Linked DNA regions of Homo sapiens: region 1 is linked to region 2. The links are contacts of gene promoters, found by promoter capture Hi-C in blood cells and fetal thymus (Javierre and others, 2016). All regions are on one chromosome and are shown on one strand. The core of a region is centred on a gene start or on the middle of the fragment in contact, and the rest is flanking DNA. Distances in the headings are between cores, read along the strand shown. Region 1 has its middle 42 kb from the start of MIR4452. Region 2 holds the start of PTPN13 (protein tyrosine phosphatase non-receptor type 13).

Region 1 (3,070 bases), core at 18-2,517, 93 kb after region 2:
AGGAGTGATATAAAGAGAAACAAGAAGTTTTGTGAGTTTCAAAGGAATGGTCAAGAGAAATGTACTTCATATTATTAAGTCAATGCAAAGTAAAGCTAAGGAGAATTTAGCTTTACTTTGGAGAATTCAGTAGAAGCAAGAAATCCAAGCAAGAAATGACTCAGAATAATGTTAAGCTTCTTTAGAATTCATGAAGATACTTCAGGAGCGAGTTGGGGGATGCTGTTTTCCATTATATTCTGAATGGGTATTCTTCCCATTTTAATTTATAACACAAAAATATATGGCAATAGAATGGGGGTGGTTACTATTTTGGGGACATCCAAGTTGTAAATGTATGAGTCACAACACATTTAGAGGAGGAAAAAAAATGGAGATCAAAAAGTAGCCGTTAAAGAGGCAGAAGAAAATGGTTTCAGAATATTTCTAAAACTTGGATGACTTTATACTTGAACTGGTTAAAATGGCATGAAATCCATTTACCTTTAAAAGACCCTGCAGTGCTGCCATGCAGTGCCCTGCCATTTTGTTGTGGTTGTTGTTAAGGGATTAATTAATTTCCATAATAGTCTTTACTTTCAACTCAGGAGAATGTTAACTTTGTGCTTTTTTGGGACAATTATGGATGTGAGTCTCCTTAATCTTCCATGTAACCTACTAAACCACAAGTTCTCAAATTAACCAAATTGGAAGTTGGAGGAAAAATTCAACTATGCATTTTTTGAGTGAAGGATAGTCATCACTTCATTCTCTGACACAATGTAATGTTGAACCCAGTTGGTATGTCTTTCAAAACTGACATGGAGTCTGTTCTTTGACTGCACAGTAGTGTGTGTGTGTGTGTGTGTGTGCATGCACACACACATGCATACAAATGCATGTTTTCTGTTTTAAGACTATTACTTCTCTTTGAAACAGAATACCCTGGATAAGTTATAGATGGATATTATGGGTTTAACCCAACTAATTATAAAAAAGCGAACCCTCCTTACCAGCTGGGCTCTTCCTAGTTCCTAATTCTCATTCTGCTACACAGCAAGGAAACACTAGGATACAGAGCTGTTTTAACTTGAAAAAGAGCTCCATGTCACACAATAAAATGATATTTTAGTTTTACATTGTAGACTAGAATGTATAGTGTAAATGATTCCTTGGTTCAGAAAAAATATACAATATTAATATATGCTTATTAAATAAATACAGTTGTATACCACTTGGTTGAAAGCTGTTGAAGACTATATATAAAATAGCCTGCACCTGAACATAGGGCACAGAGAAACTCAAGAACTATTACCTGAACTAATTTTCAAGGTTTTCAATTTATTGTTTTTATCTCCTGTGGAATTCAGGTCATTATTGCTAATTTCAAATGAAAAAGAATCAATTAAAAGTTTTTTTTTTTTTTTTTTTTTTTTTTCAGATCGTAGAGAGTTTCACATCATTGCAAATGAAATCTTCATTCACATAAGAAAGTGTAAAGAGTTTCATATGTTTACCAAAGTATCATGTTTTTACCATTACCCTAACCTTCTAATCTGTTTATATTTTTAAATGTTAACAGATTTCAAATACTTATCAGAGAAAAAAATTGTCCTATTAAGGAGCTTCAGGTGTTTGCTTTGTAGATGTGGTATATAGATTTAAATTGTGCTGGAATTTATATTTTTTACCTAATGTGTATCCATAACTATTTTGGCTGTAGCAACATGGCTTTCATTTTGCATAGCTAATAAAAGTAGCTGATGAGTCAGTCTAATGATATTGCTTTATGCTTCCTTAGAGTCTTTCATCTGCAGCTCACTAAATGCTTTGTAAACATTAATTAAACATCACAACACACACTGGAGGAAAGGTTAGTATTATTATCCTTTTATGGGGAAACATATATAGAGGGCTTAGGTAAGGCAAATATTAAATATATAGAACTGAGTTCTACAGGATACAGGTGCCAATAATGCTTCTTCCTGAGCACAGAGAAAGGAGCATAGGTGTAATTACAACAAAACCCCCAAAGTTTATGGGGAACCTGAGTTTCAGGAAACTCAGAACACTTTGTGAAATAAATTTCAGAGATTGTGTATTAAACTGAAGTTTCTAGTTAGAAGAGTGTGTACCACACAGTACGCAAACTTATCTTTTTCCTGATGAAGTGGAAAATCAGGTCAGGATTACTGCAACGTGCTTGAACTTAATAACTGAAAATAGAATCATATGATCTGGGTATTCTAGCACAACCCGATTTCAAATAAGCTGATCTGCTTCTCCCATAAGTGGATTCAGACTATTCTTATTGTGTGACCTAATTTTTAGTTTTGAGGATCAAATCACCATAGCTATTATGGCCAGTTTTGAAGCTTTATTTCTATATCCTAAAATGAAGTGGGTATTGACCAATTATCAGACAATCTGGGTAATTCAGATGGCTGGCAAATCAGTTGTTCAATTGCTAGTAACACAGATAGGAATTCAGCAAGATGGAATTTTATATTTCTTTCATAAAAGGAAGGCTTAAGAGAGGCTTATATGGTAGCTCTAAAGTGGTATCAGTGACTCAGGCGCTTTTAGTTTTCTTCGCCATCCATAGCATGTGATTTCCATCCCCAAGGTTTTCACGTGGTCCAAGATGGTTGCTGGGATCCCAGACAGACATCATATATGTCTTCTAATCAGGGAGGAAGCAGAAAGGACAAAAAGACATACTTCAGCTGTTTGTCTTAAGGAGCTTTCTCTAAAGGCCCACTTACTGTTTACCAACCATCCCTATCTGCAGGAGAGATTGGCAAATGCAGTCCTTTAGCTGGATACATCACTACTTGGAATAAAATTAAAGTTCTTAAAGTTCTATCATTAAGGAAAAAGAAGAGAATAGATGTTGTGTAGGTGACTAGTTGTCTTAGCTATAGCAAGCAAGCAAAATCAACGATTAAAGCAAAAAACAAATCCTCTTTGGATAGTGCATTATATGGTTTGTCTTTTTGTCTAATTGATATTGACTGAACAATATACACATTTCCAGTGTGTTTCGTGACCTGGAGGCACTGCCTATGGGTGTGTATGTGTGGCCCTGGCA
Region 2 (2,804 bases), core at 40-2,539:
AGTTGGAAGTGTGCGGTGGTGTCGATCATATACGTGTATGGCCAATGAAAACTGTATTGCTGTAAATCTCTTAGTGATATTTCTCCCCATCCTCCTCTCTCCATTATATTCACAACAGAAGGAAATTAAACTTTGTAAGAATTTTCTTGACTTTGGTTTAACTTTAGCTTCCCAGCTGTCTGCTCTTACAGTATCACGTAATGAGCAAAGCGGTGGGGCTAGGGGGCCGGAGGGTAGAGTGTTAACTTTAGCAAGCAGAAGAAAAGCAATAAAAGACCTTGCATCAGACAGTGTCTCTCCCTCTGCCCCCTCTTCCTCTGCTTCCCCGCCATCCCACCCCCTTCTCGAGCCCTTACACACACATTCTTCTGGGCGGCCTCTAACCACACCATCTCCACAATCATTTGCAGAAATTAGAAACAGACTCCGGGAGCCCTTCCCTTAAGCACGCACAGAGCGGAGCTGTGCAAGCACGACGGGGCAATGTCACTCCCTATTACCCCACAATCTCTTACTCCCCCTGTGGGTTTCATTCCCGAGAATCCGGCTTTCTTCCGCAGAGGAGATGGATCTACCTAATTAGCAATGGAGTTTCATCTCATTCTTCCCCACTCCAGTCACCCCACCCCCACTCTAACGTACAAAAACACCCACCACCAAAACCAAAGAAAAGTTCCTTCTACCAGGGCAACCGAGGAGTTGGGTTTAGGGACTGGAGCGAAAGCAGAGAGAGGAGGAAGAGAACGAGCGCAATGTACTTTGTTTTGCACTTCTGCACATGCAGCGCAGAGCCCAGGGCGGCTCTCGTCCTTACCGGCTGGTCCCGAGACCGGGTCCTGCTACTGGAGCGCCGGGCGAGGGCTGCAGGGACGCGGCGTCGGGGCGGGCCGCCGGCAGCCGCCGCGGGCGCCGAGAGCCACCACCACTTCTCCCACAAGCGGCTGCGGGCGTGGGCTGAAGGAGCTGTAGAAGGAGCCTGGGGAGGGGGAGAAGAGGAGCAGCATCTCCTCCTCCTCCTCCTCGCCTCGGAAACGCTCCCCAGCGGCGATCCCGGCCGACTGCCTGACCCCCGAGCGCTCAACGCACCCCCGCCGCCCTACTGTGCTCGACGCCTCTCCAAGAGCTTCGCCAAAACCTTCTGGCGCGGGCGGCTCAACTCCTGTAGGCGACTCTGACCGCTGCCGAGGCGGACCGGGGAGCTACGGAGCACGGCTCGCCAGCACGACGGTCTCCAGGGGCCGTGAGCATGGTGTGTCACCCTCGCCTCAGCGTGGCCGCTGGAGCTACTCGCACCACTGGGGCTCCACCTCGGGCAGCCGCGCCGGCTCCGCCCCCCCGGTCCTGTCACTCAACCATTCCCCGGCACTGGGAGGACCGCAGATCTCCCACCCCGAGCTCCCCTCGACCTCATTGGCCCGCCTGGCATCCAGCTCCACCTCCTCCCTAGGGACGAGGTCGCCAGGGAGACCAGCGCCCCGGTTGCCATGACAACCAGTGCCTTGGGCCTGGCTTTTCGCGTTCTTCGGACTAGCCAGAGGCTCAGGTTGGTGACCGAGCGGCAGAGTTCCTAGCGCCTGCAGTGTGGTGAACTCCAACTTTTAGGCCAAGTTGAAAATGCAGCCGACGACCCCCACACTTCTAACTTCAGAATCAAAACTATGACCCTAGGGAGTGAGGAGGAGAGTGAAAAATGCGTAAGTGCTGGCTCCTCCCTTACTCTTCGCTGCCTCTCAGCCTTGTTTCTATATTCTCACGGGGCGCTTTGGTCTTTGAAAGGAAGAGGAGAATGGGGGAGAGGAAGAGCATGGCTTTGCCAGCTCCTTGCAGCAATATAGCAACTTAGAAATGGCGGGGTCAACGAAAAAAGCCCGGTGAGTTTTCCCACGGTTGTAAAGCTATCTTCAAAAGTGTGGTGACAGCACAACGCCAAATGCCCTAGGGAAAACTGAAATTCTCATATTTTTGAAAAAAGTTTGTAAATACTTGCCTTGTTATTTTATCTATGAGACTAAAATAATCCCGAAGTTTGAAAATTTAAGGAAAAGGTTTAACATAGTCGATAACCTCCCACTTTTCTATATACACTGAAATTTGGCCAAGGTATATCCAGACAGCTGTACCCCTCCTTGCTGCAAGCCGAAATATTTGAGTTTCAATAGTTAAACAAGAGAGTCTTGCTGAATTCATGAACAAATAATATCCTGTGATTTGAGTTTTGAAAGTTTTGGGTTATTCTCAGAGGTATAAGGTAAACTGGTCCACTCTGGAAAGGGTACCTGAAGATAAATTTAGTCTGAGACCCTTAATGTTGAGCCCTAGGTAAATCTGAATTTCATGGCTGGCTCCAAAGTGGAGAGATCTGAGGCTTATTTGGCTTCCCCAAAAAAAGTCAAAGCAGCAATCCTAGGTTCCCTAGCCCCTGAGGCTGCCATACATGTATGATGAATGAGGGAATTAATAGTAATGATTTATCTTTGGCGAGCACTTGAGTTTTCATTATATCATTTACTAAATGAATAACTATGATAGATATCTTCAGTCAAATATGCCTTACAAGTATGCATTGAATGTGATTACTCATAGGGCTAAACACAACGGAAAATACACAGCAGGATTTTAAGCTAAGTCCCCGCTCCCAAGGAGCTAACCTGGAGCCTAAGAAAGAAAACTAGCACTCTTGAAACAATTTGAGAACAATTATAGCTAAAATGTGCAGCCAAACTTTGAGTAGGTAGCAGCTAAGAGAAAGTTTGCTATGTAAAATGGGCTGGATTCCTCAGTTTATGGAAGAGGGGAATTTACAC

Evidence for each region. Contacts are between HindIII fragments. The CHiCAGO score rates a contact against its expected background, and 5 or more counts as called.
Region 1: a contact is called between a fragment that was not itself captured here and the fragment with the promoter of PTPN13 in region 2, in 3 of 17 cell types (M1 macrophages, M2 macrophages and megakaryocytes). The highest score is 6.0, in M1 macrophages.

Annotation. Positions count from the first base shown.
Region 1 is chr4:86,499,462-86,502,531 of GRCh38, reverse strand. It overlaps a transcript of MAPK10 not described here. Among named protein-coding and RNA genes, the nearest start is that of MIR4452, 42 kb to the left of the region's middle. The HindIII fragment of the contact is 2,178 bases long and covers 179-2,356 here.
Region 2 is chr4:86,592,800-86,595,603 of GRCh38, reverse strand. PTPN13 (protein tyrosine phosphatase non-receptor type 13) reads right to left here and starts at 1,289. Exons shown (of 48, transcript NM_080683.3): 1 at 815-1,289. It also overlaps a transcript of MAPK10 not described here. RefSeq lists an enhancer at 1,052-1,638. The HindIII fragment of the contact is 4,151 bases long and covers 1-2,804 here.